Linked DNA regions of Homo sapiens: all the other regions are linked to region 1. The links are contacts of gene promoters, found by promoter capture Hi-C in human tissues and cell types (Jung and others, 2019). All regions are on one chromosome and are shown on one strand. Each heading gives the region's core, a stretch centred on a gene start or on the middle of the fragment in contact. The rest is flanking DNA. Distances are from core to core; before and after follow the strand shown. Region 1 holds the start of ENDOV (endonuclease V). Region 2 holds the start of AATK (apoptosis associated tyrosine kinase). Region 3 holds the start of TMEM105 (TMEM105 long non-coding RNA).

Region 1 (4,374 bases), core at 898-3,397:
CAGATGGAAACCCTTCCAGAAGAAACATTACTGCAAAGGTCAGGCCGCCAAATACAGCGTAGCAAACACGTGAGGGACTCACAGTGGGCTGTAGGAGGTGGGAAGAACTGAGAATAGTGGTGAGGGCTGAGCCTCCAGCGTCATATTAAATTACGCAGGGGACAGGTCATGACGGGCCTTGAAGCCATGCCAACCAGAGTGAACTTTATTCACCATGAGGTCATGAGAAGGGCACTTCAATGTTCTAAGAGGACTTGTGGGCTGGGTGTGGTGGTTCCCACCTGTAATCTCAGCACTTGGGGAGGCCAAGGTAGGAGGATCCCTTGAGCCCAGGAGCTGGAGACCACCCTGGGCAACATAGTGAGATCCTGTCTCTACAAAAAATAAAAAAATAAGCCGGGTGTAGTGGCTCACACCTGTGGTCCTAGCTACTCAGGCTAAGGTGGGAGGATCACTTGAGTCCAGGAGGTTGAGATCAGATCTTGACAGTGAGCCAAGATTATGCCACTGCACTTCAGCCTGGGCACAGAGTGGGGGAAGGGGAAAGGAAGGAAAGAGAGACAGAGAGAGGAAGGAAGGGAGGAAGGAAGGAAGGAAGGAAGGGAGGGAGGGAGGGAGGGAGGGGACTTGTTGCTTTTGAGGAAAATACTTGCTTTTTAGGAAAATTGGTCTGCTGGCAGTATGGAAAAGAAACCACTGAGGAGGAACATTTGAGCCAGGGCACCCATGAAAATGCTGCTCAGGAACCCACAGGAGTGATGGTGGCACAGCCAGGGAAGGAGCAGAGGGGAAACAGACAAGGGGACAGATTCCAGCGACATTTAAGAGGCAGAATAAAAGCGAGCTAGTGTGCAACTGGACGCGAGAGGAACGGAGGGGCCCAGGAGGATGCAGATCTCCAGCTTGGGCAACTGGGAGCGTGGTGGACAGGTCACTGAGATGAAGAACCCAAGATAACAATCAGACTTGAAGATAAAGCTCATGAGCTGATTCTTAATAGTCACAGAATTCCCTTAATTTTTGCCTTTTTTTCCCTTCCAAGACTCCCCAGACTTTTTTTTTTTTTTTTTTTTTTTGAGATGGAGTTTCGCTCTTGTTGCCGAGGCTGGAGTGCAATGGCGTGATGTTGGCTCACCGCAACCTCCGCCTCCCGGGTTCAAGCGATTCTCCCGCCTCAGCCTTCCGAGTAGCTGGGATTACAGGTATATGCCACCACACCCGTCTAATTTTGTATTTTTAGTAGAGACCGGGTTTCTCCATGTTGGTCAGGCTGGTCTCGAACTCCCGACCTCAGGTGATTCCCCCGCCTCAGCCTCCCAAAGTGCTGGGATTGCAGGCGTGAGCCACCGCGCCCGGCCAACTCCCCAGACTATTAATGACATCCTACAAAACGAGAAGCCGGGTTCTACGCTTGCACTGCTCCCTGTCCCGGAGACCGCACGCCCGAGCCCACCGAGGGGCCCGCCTCGAGCTCGGCGTCCTCCCAGGTTACCTCGAGCTCAGGGAAGCTGAGCACCACCAGGGAAGCACAAGCGCGGACACTGTCCCCTTTCACGAAGGACACGTCAACGCCCCCGACCCTCTGCAGACCCGAGAAGGCGGGGTCTCGCTGCCACGCCTCGGTGTCCCGGTCTACGACGTGGGCCTTCAGCCGAGCTTGCTCCCTAGGAGGACAGAAGCGTCAAACTTGGTCGGGGTCACACCTCAGACTCTGCCTCCTCCACCCGCGCGGCTGCAGCGGACAGAGCGCCTCTGCCGGGTCTTCTCCCGCTTCAAGGGAAAGCAAGGGACATACCGCCGAGGCCACAGTCCCTAGGAGCCCAGGCGGCGGAGACCCGCGCAAGCGCAGGCCAGACAAACTGGCCGGAAGCGAGAACCGCGCCCACCCCGCGGACTACAATTCCTGAGATCCCTCCGCTTCCGCGCCGGAAACTGGGCTTTGCTTTGGAGTCTCGGGCGGTGGCAGCTCCGATTCCACAGCCTGAAGACTATGAGCTCGGAGGGTCCGCGAAGGGCCGCCCGGCCTCGGCCCCCGCCTCCTGCGCGTCGCCTGACAGCATTACCGTTTCCACAGTGACAGCGTTTCCTCCGGCGGCCCTCCCGCCGCCTCCAGGGCCATGGCTTCGTCCCGGGCACCCCTTCCGCACGTCACTTCCGGAAGCGACTCGCTCTGACGCCGTCCGCCCTCGTTGCCATGGAGACGCTTGCGCTTTCCCGGGCCGCACTTCCCACCCGGGTCTTCAGAAGCCCGTGGCCGCTGGGTGAGCCCCTGCGTGAACGCACACGCACGCACACGGCTTCAGGTTGCCCCGCGGCGCCGCGCGCGATATCGGCTCGGATCCCGGGAGGCCGTCCGCCCCTTTTTCAGCGGATAGCTGAGGCCAGGTAAGTGACCGCGCGAGGACCCGGGAACTCCGTGACGCCCGTCCCGCCTCTGCTGTCCCCGCCGCAAGCGCTGCGCTCTGCACGGCGAGAGGGGCCTCTTGCCCTGTTGAGAGCCGGCGGGCACGGCACTTCTGCGCTTGGAAAAGGGTGGTCCAGCACTGCAGGTCCCACTCCTTGGCCCGGTCAGCGTCCGCCTTTGCTGAACCCCGAAAGGATTCACCAGGTCCAGGACAGCCCGGCAGTTGCCTCAGGAGCACTTACTGAGCGCCTGTCGTTGACGCCCCCACCTCGATGGCAGCTCAGGGGTGCCCTCAAGCTTTTGAGGGCAGGTGTCGTGTATTTAAATTCTTCACAGTTTAGCGGGCTGGACTCACGGGGGTGCTGCAGACTTGGACGGGGTTTCATCTGGGTCGGACCTTGCTGGGCAGAAAGCTTCTCCTACCAGACAAAGTACGGCGACCTTGGGGGGTCTTGGTTCTTACCTCGTGTTCCTCATTGAATGAGTGTTGGTTCAGTGCTCTCGCTGTGCCAGGTGTTGTGCGAAGTACTGTGAGGGAGAATATGTATTTATTTGTGGGGAGCCGACTTTAAACCGGTGGTTGGGAAAGGCCTGAGAGGCGATATTGAAGACACCTGAAGGGTGAGTGAAAGAGCACGGCGGGTGAGTGGAGCAGCTTTCTCGTGCAGGTCCCGGGGTGGGAAAGAGGTTGGTGTATTTGAAGCACTGAAAGGCAGCCACTGAAGCTGAAGTGTAGCAGTTTAACCCATGGTTTTATATTCTCCTGGGAGGATTCAGAAGGGTGTATGTGTGTATGTATATATAATAGCCTGAATATAAACGTCAAGGGTGTTAGGTTTTGAAGGGAAGGTGAAGGTTAAAGAATGACGCACAGTGAGATTGCCGGCGCGCGGGCGGCTCTACAGCAACACAGGTGTATTGCAAACACCTGTCGGGGGCCAGCTTAATGCCAGAGCCCACCAGCGATTACAGGCTGGGGTACTCATAGGCCTGGGCAGGAGGGATCTAGGCAGTATGGCTTGCTGTCCGGGAAGATGTTAACGTGTTCCCAGGATGAGGTGGTTCCGGCAGAATGTGGTGTTCCTGGCGCTTTGTCCCAGCAGAATATGTTAAGAGGCAGGCTGTTTCTCATGGCTCGAACCCCCGTGGAATGTTTCACTTTGACCAAGGTCTACAAAATGGAAAGGGGCTTACAAAATGACGCAGTTTGGACTAACAAAGGGGAAAATACAGAGGATGAAATTAGACTCTAGAGGTTGAGGCTCAGGAAAGGCTTCATACAGCTTTGGGAACTGACAAGGCTTTGAAAGCAGGGTCAGTTTTCAGCGAATGAGCGTCACCCACTGCACCCTGCGCACCCTGCTCCCCTGCTGCGGTGTCTTTCCCACCAGAGTGTAGCAGGACAAGCCGCAGACAAAACCCCTCAGACACCGAGTTAAAGAAGGGCTTTATTCAGCTGGGAGCTTCGGCAAGACTCACGTCTCCAACAACCGAGCTCCCCGAGTGAGCAATTCCTGTCCCTTTTAAGGGCTCACAACTCTTCAGGGGTCTGCGTGAGAGGGTCGTGATTGATTGAGCAAGCAGGGGGTACGTGACTGGGGGCTGCATGCACCCGTAATTAGAACGGAACAGAACAGGACAGGGATTTTCACGGTGCTTTTCTATATAACGTCTGTAATCTATAGATAGCATCACTGATTAGGTCAGGCGTCGATCTTTAACTACCAGGCCCAGGGTGTGGTGCAGGCTGTCTGCTTGTGGATTTCATTTCTGCCTTTTAGTTTTTACTTCTCTCTTTGGAGGCAGAAATTGGGCGTAAAACAATATGAGGGGTGGTCTCCCTTATTCTCCCTCTCTGAGAATCTCACTCAGTAGTGGGAGTTGTCACTTTTATTTTTACTACCTATGTTTTCTTGCAAGACAGATCGATAGTGATTCATATAGTACAGTTGTGCTGAAGCATTTTGGTG
Region 2 (4,101 bases), core at 1,209-3,708, 750 kb before region 1:
TGGGCTCCTCGGTCAGCTCCTTCTGGGCTCTAGAGAGTCCCAGGGGCGGAGATCATGCCTTCCCCCAGGCCGGGGGATAGCAGACAGCTATGTCTTCAGGGACCTCTTACCCAGAGGTGCTCACTGATCCTGTCCCAGCGTGGGCAAAAGCCAGCACCTGGGGGGCCCCACTAGGGTCACGGTCAGTGGAAGCATCTGAACTCCTGGTTCCAGCGAAATCTCAGAGGGCCCTGTGCTTCCTGGAGAAGGGGTGTCGCTCTGGTTACGTAGGGTGGGAGTGCTGGCTTGGAGCCCAGGGGCAGCTCCTCCCCTGTCCTTCCTGGAGCCCCAAGAAGATCCACAGCTTGAAGCCCCTGAGCTGTGGCCCAGCCACAAGTGTACATGTGTGTGTTCACAGGCAAAACTGAGAGGAGCCAGCCCCTGGTCACAGCAAGCTGTTTCTGGCCCTGGTCATCAAGGCAGGGACACTGAGGGCATGGAAGTTCTGGACAGAAACTCTCCCCAACATGCCAACCAGCAACCACCCACGGCCACTGGCCACCTCCCCCTGCCTAGGTCCAGGTGTCTAGGGCACCTTCCAGGCTGGGCAGAGGAGGGCACTCCCTCCTGAGCTGGGGAGGGGAGGCCCTGACAGGGGACCCAGAGTGGAGACTCATGAGGGTATGCCATACCCTCTGTCCCTCACACTGGAGCACTCCAGGATCACAGCCTGCTGGCACCAACCATCCCTGCCACTGGGTGGGCACTGATCCTCCCAGCCCTCTGGGCTCCCTGAAGACACAGACTGAACGAGGTGGCCCAAGGCCTCTGAGTGCCTCCTGCGGGCAAGGCCCCCTTCAGCCACTCTACCCACGCGGCTTCTTTACCTGCAACGGCAGCCTGGCGGCAGCGCCCCTTAGAACCTTGGCTGGCCACATGATCAGGGCCAGGAAGAAGGCTCTGGGTGCCCTGTCTCCTTCTGCCCCAGGTGCAGTTGGTGTCTTGTCTCCTACAGCCAGGGACCCCTAAGGTCTGAGGGCACAGGGTGGAGGCCCCTTGCTTTGCCTGTTAGGAGGAAACTTCCTACATGAGGGACCCCCTTAGGAAAAGAAGGGTGGGTCCTGGTGCCCATCTGCCCCGTGGCCCAAGCATCCTGTCCTGGTCTCTGCAGGTCCCTCTGCCGGGAACAGGCTCCTTTCTCTCCCTAAAGTCCTAAGAGCCCTGTTGGAGTGGGCGCCTCTCACCTGCTCCACAGCCCCCAACCCCAACTGGGCCTTGCCAAGGGGCTTAGCCATCTGGTCCCAGAATGAGTGAGTGAATGAATGAGTGAGTGAATGAATGAGTGAGTGAATGAATGAGTGGATGAGGGTGCATCAAACTCAACTGCAAGTCTCCAGGACACTTTTTTTGAGACAAGATCTTGTTGTCACCCGGGCTGGAGTGCAGTGGTGCCATCTTGGCTCACTGCGGCCTCTAACTCCCAGGCTCAAGTGATCCTCCCACCTCAGCCTCCCAAGTAGCTGAGACTACAGGTGAGCGCCACCATGCCTGGCTCATTTTTCTAATTTTTGTAGAGAAAGTGTCTTGCTATGTTGCCCAGGCTGGTCTGGAACCCCTGAGCACAAGCCACCCGCCTGCCCTGGCCTCCCAAAGTGCTGGGATTACAGGCATGAGCCACTGGGACCAGCTTCCACTGAACTTTAACTCTCCCGACTCCCACGGGGGCAGGCTGGGGGGACCCTGCCCCGCCCCAACCCTGCAAGGTGGCACTTTGGGCGGGGATGGGGGATCCTGGGAGAAACATAGGGGAAGGGATGGCCCCTCAGCGCCCAGGCCAACCTGCTGCCCTAAGCACCTGGTACAGTCCACGGCAGGTGGAGACTCAGCCAGGTTCTTCCTTCATGGCTGTCGCAGCACGGTACAGGAGCAGGCCTGTGTGCAAAGCCAGCCACCCCCACTCCACCAGCACAGGTGCCACCCAAAGGGCATGGGGTGGGGGGGCGGCTGCCAGCCGCCTCGAAACCTGCAAGTGAGGCGAGGGCCCCTGAGCACCAAGACCCGCCCTGGGTGTGCTCCCGGGTTCCCCCACCTGTCTCCCTGAACCTTTCCACCTAGGAGTACCCCCTCCCCCACCCCGGCGTTCCCTCCGTACCCACTCACGACTTACCATTCACGACTTCCGTTTCCCCCCCCCCCGCCAGCCTCCGTGCCCCCCTCAGCCCCAGGCCGCCGTGCTTCCCGCTCCGGACCATCCCCCCACTCCGTGCCATCCCCGCTCCGTGCACGGCCCCCCGTCCCCCCTCCTCCATGCCTCCCCTCCGTGTCCCCCCTCCAAGCCCCCTTCTGTGTCCCCCACTCCGTGCTCCCCTCTGTCTCCCCCTCCGTGTCCCCCTCTCCGTGCTCCCCCCATGCCACCCCGGCCGCGGAGGGCCCCCCCCTCCCCCGCGCCGCTCCGCGCGCGCTCCCGCCCGCGTTTTCGGACTGCACCAGCGGAGCCCCGCGGCGCCAGGGCCGGGCGGAGCGCCTCGTCTGTCGCCGCCGCCCCCACCGGTGCGGGCTCTGCGGCTGCGGCGGGGGGCGCGGGGCGCGGGGGCCGGCGCGCTCCGCACCTGCGGCGGCCGCTGGGTGATGCGGCGGCTCGGGCCGGGGCCGCGGGCGTCCTGAGCGCAGCGCCCTCCCGGGATGCCCGCCGGCCGCTGGCCCGGCCATGTCGTCGTCCTTCTTCAACCCCAGCTTCGCCTTCAGCTCGCACTTCGACCCCGGTGAGTCCCTGGCGGCCCGGCCTGCGCGCCGCTGCCTCCCTCCGCTGCGGACGTGATGCCCCTGGGCCCCACGGCTCCCGGTTTGCATGGAAATTAACCCTTTCCCCGCCCCGAGCCCAGCAGCAGAAGCAGCCGGACCCCCTGGCGGCCCCAGATCTCGGAGGGGCAGGCCCTGGGCCCCAGCACAAACCGGCCTCCGCCTGTGGGCTGGCGTCCCCCGCGTGGTCGTGACTCCGTGGCTGCCTCCAGGGCACAGGTAACTGGGGCACGGAGGGCCTGCGTGGGCCCCTGGTGTCCAGGAGAGTTGGTCTCAGACTAAGGGCCCTTGGGGGTGTGGGGGGTGTCAGCCAGCTGGGGTTCAGGCTTTCCATGGCCTCTCCTGGGTCCGGGGCCCTGGCGTGGGAGGCTTCTTCCCAGGCTGGGAGCGATTCTCAGAGCCCTGCCCAGCCACCAGCAGCCGGCGGGGGATGTGGGGGGAGCAGGGGCCAGTCCACATTACAGAGCCCAGTGGGCAGAGGCTCAGAAGAGAGGGGCCTTGGTGGGTGCCCAGATCCCCTGACAGTGGGGGCCCGAGGTGACGCTGTCAAGCTGGCTGCAGGGGACCTGAGGCCAGGCCTCTTACCCCGTATGGCCAGTGCACCGGGCAGGGCGAGATTACCCATGGCTGCCTGGCCTCCTGGCTGTGGTGGACAGCTGGGATAGGCAGAGGGGGCTGGGGACAGCTGGAAGCCCCATCTGTCACCAGGAAGCAGTGGGCTTTCTAAAACCTCTGCTTCTCCAGATCCGGCCCCTGCTTGGCCTGAGTGGGAGATAATCCCCCTGCCCTGTGCCATCCATGGCCCCAGGGCCAAGTCCCACCCACACGTCACTGGGGCTCTGGCACCAGGCTGAGCCAGCCCAAACAAAGCCTGTTTGCATGTGACGTGATCTCCTGTGTCTCCTTCCCTGGAGCAGGGCCCAGTGCACGCAGCCTGGCAGGGAGGCACGGGGGTCCCCGGGGCAGATCTCGGTCTGAAGGCATTTGCTCCCTGGAGGAAGGGAGCTGGTGGGAGGTCTGTCTGCTGGGCTTAGGGCTGTGGGTGTCACTTGCTCAGAAATGACTTCCTGTAGTGACCCCTGGGGCTCGGAAGTCCCTGTGGGGTGGGCAGGTGAAGGCTCAGAGCCCAACAGCCACGGCAACAGCTGTAATGTCTCCCCGGCCCAAGGGCAGGGGGTGGAGGAGGCTTGGGGCAGGTCCTCATCACATCTCCATGCCAGGCGTGGCCCACGGTGCTTGGTCCTTTCTGCCCCCAGAACAGAGAGGACCCTCGGCCCATACCCTGCCTCGGGGCCCAGCCTTGTCCTTGGCCATGAGAGGCCC
Region 3 (4,607 bases), core at 1,572-4,071, 920 kb before region 1:
GAAACAAGAGGAAGGTGCCCCCGTAGGAGCCCCAAGACCACCAAAGGGACAGATCTGAGAGGCCACTCCCCAGGCCTGCTGTCCAGCTCTGGGGTGGGAGATGGCACCAGAGGAGAGGCCATCAGAGGCCCCCGAGTGGCAGGACAACGGCTGCGGGACTGCCTCTCCCAGGCTTGCCTTCCCTCGGGTGGCTCAGCAGCCCCTGAGTGATGCTCCTGCCTGGGACGCTTGACCTGCACTGAGCACAGGGGAGTCGGATCCGGAGGCATTCTCGGAATCACCTCTCCGGATGCTCAGAAAAGGGCAATGTTTTTAAAAAGGCAAAAGGGTGCGGTGCGTGTTATAGATGAGAGGAGGCTAACGGGAGACCCTGGATAGGATCCTGAACGAGGCTTGGGGTGGGACTGCTCTGGCGGGCCGTGGAGCTGACTGGGAAGTTTACACACAGCAGGCGGGGCCACGGGGCCGTGCATCGTTCTGTGTGGCACTGCGTTTCCCCAGGCGTGCTGCTGGAGGCAGGCAGGTGTTCTTAGACATTTGATGCTACAGTATTTAGGGTGAAGTGTCAAGGTGTCTGCAACTGACACTCAAAAGATTCAGCAGTTTTACATAAAGGGGGAGCAAGAAGTAAGAGAGGAAGCCAAGGTGACACAATATTTTTTAAAAGGGCTTCTGGGTACAAATCAGTGTACGTACAGAAATACATTTTATTTGTGCAGATGTGCAGAGACACTTTCGGCTGGCATGGTGGTTCATGCCTGTAATTCTAGCACTTTGGGAAGCCAGGGCAGGAGGATTGCTTGAGCCCAGGCTGGACAACATAGTGAGACCCCATCTCTGCAAAAAACACAAAAATTAGCCAGGCGTGGTGGTGTGTGCCTGTAGACCCAGCTACTTGGGAAGCCGAGGATCGCTTGAGTCCAGGAGGTCGAAGCTGCAGTGAGCCTTATTCTCACCACTGCCCTGCAGCCTGGGCAACAGAGCAAGACTCTCTCAAATCAATCAATCAATAAATTTGACTGCAGGTGCCAGAAGTGGACTCTGACTAACTGAAGCCGGGAGCAGGTATTTGGTTGGAGCTTGCAGCAGGGAGGGCAGGGGGAAGGCGCTGTTCAGGCCCCAACAGCAGCGGCTCGGGAGTGGCCCCAGCACAAGCCCAGTGTCCCTCGGCTCAGCATTCAAATTCCAGGAAAAGAGTCCCGATGGTCCGGCTTGGTCTAGGGCTGTGGCCCGTGGCAGGTCCCCAAAACCACACCTGCCGCTCCAGTGCCCCCCAAGGCTGCATGACCTTCGTGTGGACAGGATCATGGAACACATGACCTCACCCAAGCCTCCCAACCATGCCGTGATCCAGCACTGTTAGAATCATCCCCGTTTCACAGAGCAGAGTTGAAGTGTTGGGTGTTTAAACGCTGTGCCCAGGGCTGTCCAGCCAGGGAGTGGAATCTGGTCCTGGCCCAGAAGGCAGCAGCCCCACCCAGGCCACCTGCTCCAGGTCCCCGGGCTCCACAGACTTTCACATCTACTGCAGAGGCGCAAGGACGTTCCCCAGCATCAAAGCCCTCAGACCCTGGTGCCAGCCACGTCGTCACAGAACTTGTAGACCAGAGGATGCCCTGCGGATAGAGGGCCTGCCCTGGGCCTGCGCCAGGCTGGGCATATTGCTGAGGTCCCTGCTCTGTGCTGGCAAAATCCAGACCTCAGGAGAGGGGCAGGCAGGCTCTGAGAGGTTGCGGCTGCCCAGGGCCTGCAGCTGGGAGGAGCGGAGACAGACCCCCCCTCCCCTGGGACACAGTTGCTCTGCACCACACAGCTCCGCTCCTGGCGTCCCCTGGCTTTGCCGGGGGCGGCCGACCCAGCTGGCCAGGCCCCCTCCCCCTGCCCCACAGGTGGCCCTGAGCTGCTGAGGATAAGGCATGCTGGGCGATCTCTGCTGATTAGAGTCGCCCTCCGCTGTGGGCTAGGGGCCCCTATTTTGCTCCTGAGATCCCAGTCGGCCCATAGAAGCCCTCACAGGCTCTCCCGGGGGTCCAAGGAGTCCCAGGAGGCCCCCGTTCACCCCGGGTTTGCCTTCTCCCTCCTGTAATTTGCTTTTCATATGCGTGAAGGGGAACTCAGCAGGAGCAGAAGATGATGTGGCCTCGTGGGAGCGTGGGAGAGCTGGGACGGGGTGGTGGGGAGGAGCGGGGACCCAGGGACAGGGGCTCTGGGTCCAACCACCAGGCCTTTTGCACTTCGTGCTCTCTGTAGCCTCAGCTTCCCCCGAGGGTCAGGAACTCCAGGCAGGGGCATGGGGCAGCTCAGAAACCTTCCTGAGCCCCTTCCCCTGGCAAGAGGCAAACCAAGCAGGTGAGGGCTGGGCCCTGTTCTCAGAGCTGGCATCCCAGCCCTGGCCAGATCCAGGCTGAGGGCGGCCCAGCCCCCTGTTCTGCCTGGTGCAGAGGACACGGCTTCCCTGGCCGGAGCCCCCGCCCCCTCCTCTCCTTTCTTGGCGTCTGCCCCTGGGCGTGCCCTACCATTAAGCCCTTGTTGGTTCCACAAGCTGGGGGCACCCCTTCCTCCCTTCCTCCGGGCAGCCATTGGCAATGGCTGGCGGCTCGGGACAGGGCCCGTATTCTCTGAAAATGATGGCTGGGCTGGAACCCGGGATCGATTCTCAGACCTGCGTCATGTGGAGTCCCGGATGCTTGTTACGAATTCGGACCCTGGCCTGTGCCTGCTCCCTGGTACCTCTGAACAGGGCTTTCTGCCCTGGGGGTGTGAAGAGGGCCAAGTCCACTCCCCGACTGGGGTCACGCCTGCCTCCTGTCAGGACTGTGAACACTGCGTCCCCATCAGCTCAAAGAATACGCATGGGGACAAGCCTGGGGGGCCGTCTGAGAGTCCCCCAACCCTGGATCCCCACGGCAGCCCCCACTGTTGGGTTTTTCAGTGGCTGGTGTGCCCTGGGCTGGTCACCTCTGCATTTTGCTCTGCTGGGAGTTTGCTCCTGGCCCTCCAACAGCGCCTCCTCTGTGAGGAGGAACTCCTGTTCCCGTGGCTCTGCTGGCTCTGGAGGCTGGAGTTCCCGTGCTGGGCCCTCCTGGGCGGGTTCTCTCTTGCTGCCGCCAGTACCCTGCCCCTCTCGTCCTCCTGGGTAGCCTGGGAGGAATGGCAGAAGAAAGCAGTGAAGCCAGGTAGCAGTAGCCCGGCCACCCCACCAGGCTCTGCTGTAGGCTGGGCTCTCAAGGCAGCTGCTCCAGGAGGGGCCCCCTAGGAAGGGACTGCCACACTCCTGGGAGCGTTCCTGGCCCCCTCCAGTGCAAATGACCCTGGGCCCCAAGGCTCCGAACACCCGCCCCTCTGCTCCAGGTAAGAGGGAGATGTGGGTGGTGCCTGGACTGTTGTGTGCTTAGGTGGGGGAGTGGAGCCTTCAGGTCTCAGGAACCCACAAATGCTTGTTGAGCTGATGAACCCTGCAGAGATGAGAAGCTTAGGCCCAGAGAGCTGATGCCACCTGCCTGGGGCCACAAAGTCCACTGGGCAGAGGAGGGTGGGAACCCCAGTCCTTGGCCCCACTGTCAAAGCGGGTGCTTCCCAGGGAGAGCAGAGCCTGGGGTCAGTGCGGAGGACACTGGATCCCCAGTTCCGGGCTGGGGAGAGGCAGCTGGTGTTTCAGTGCTGCAGAGAGGGCCAGGCCGGCCTCAGACACCCTCCCCGAGGCCTGTGTGGGGGTGGAGGGCGGCCACACCTGTCCCACTGCAGGCCCTGGGGTGGGGTTTCCTGTCTGTGCTGGAGCCCGGTCAGGTTTCTCACTTCGCCCGGGGCAGGGGTGCAGGGCAGATGGCCCAGCCAGTCATGAGTCACCAGCCCAGCCTGCCGGCCTGCCTGACAAACGGGAAAGACCCGGCGGGTAGGAGCTGGGCTGGGAGCATCCTAGCTGGGCCTGGGCCAGCCCCTTCCTGGGAGAGGAGGGAAGCTGCCTCAGGCCTCCGGGGAGAAGCTCCCACCTGGCCCGGACCCTCCTCCCTCCTCCCTCCTCTGGCGGGGTGAGTGGGCTGAGGGCCTGCTGGGCCCCTGCATGGTGGGAAAGTTTGGGGAGGGGAGGGGTTTCCAAGCCTCAGCCGTCCAGGCCTACGCATCCCAGATCTCGCTCGCTCCACAGCGCTGTGCCATGTCATGGGCTTCTTTTTTCCTGGTCCGAAGTGTTAGTATCTGCGAAATTGCAGGCTTGATGTGTTGGCTTTATTTTTCTAACACACACTAAAATAAATCATGCGTGTTTTACAGTGTGTTGGGGCCATCTGTGGGTCACGGACGGCCCTTCTGGCCTGGGGGCTGGCCAGCTCTTTCTGTAGGGTCCAAAGAGAGCTTGAGTCCCCAGCTGGGGTAACCCAGGCAGGGATTTTCCCGACATGTAGCCCCAGAGCAGGGAGGCTGTGGCTTTGAGGAGAGGCGGAGTCCTCAGCCCAGCCTTCCTCAGGCCTCCAGAAGCAGCCTCGCCAGGCAGCCTGGGTCTGCCACCCTGCAGACAGTGTGCAGGGCAAGGGAAAAAGGACAGGCCTCTCTCCAGCCCCACACCTGCCCACGCCTCTCCTGGAATTGCCCCCATCAGAGCCCCTTGGGGG

The links. Contacts are between HindIII fragments. The study calls those that stand out against the background at their distance.
Region 2: the fragment with the promoter of AATK here is called in contact with the fragment with the promoter of ENDOV in region 1 in 6 of the 25 tissues and cell types used here (dorsolateral prefrontal cortex, heart left ventricle, heart right ventricle and 3 more).
Region 3: a contact is called between the fragment with the promoter of TMEM105 here and the fragment with the promoter of ENDOV in region 1, in 1 of the 25 tissues and cell types used here (lymphoblastoid cells).

Annotation. Positions count from the first base shown.
Region 1 is chr17:80,412,940-80,417,313 of GRCh38, reverse strand. It overlaps ENDOV (endonuclease V), which reads right to left and starts at 2,147. Exons shown (of 10, transcript NM_173627.5): 1 at 2,064-2,147; 2 at 1,493-1,664. The coding sequence starts at 2,119. It overlaps RNF213-AS1 (RNF213 antisense RNA 1), which reads left to right and starts at 2,146. Exons shown (of 2, transcript NR_029376.1): 1 at 2,146-2,385. RefSeq lists an enhancer at 1,625-1,714. The HindIII fragment of the contact is 5,195 bases long and covers 1-3,605 here.
Region 2 is chr17:81,164,578-81,168,678 of GRCh38, reverse strand. AATK (apoptosis associated tyrosine kinase) reads left to right here and starts at 2,458. Exons shown (of 14, transcript NM_001080395.3): 1 at 2,458-2,741. The coding sequence starts at 2,687. PVALEF (parvalbumin like EF-hand containing) reads right to left here and starts at 3,172. Exons shown (of 7, transcript NM_001354639.2): 1 at 2,932-3,172; 2 at 1,835-2,002. RefSeq lists enhancers at 2,917-3,660, 3,661-4,101. The HindIII fragment of the contact is 13,495 bases long and covers 1-4,101 here.
Region 3 is chr17:81,328,888-81,333,494 of GRCh38, reverse strand. It overlaps TMEM105 (TMEM105 long non-coding RNA), which reads left to right and starts at 2,821. Exons shown (of 3, transcript NR_165247.1): 1 at 2,821-3,351. RefSeq lists enhancers at 1,054-1,624, 1,625-2,195, 3,339-3,908, 3,909-4,480, 4,481-4,607. The HindIII fragment of the contact is 14,660 bases long and covers 1-4,607 here.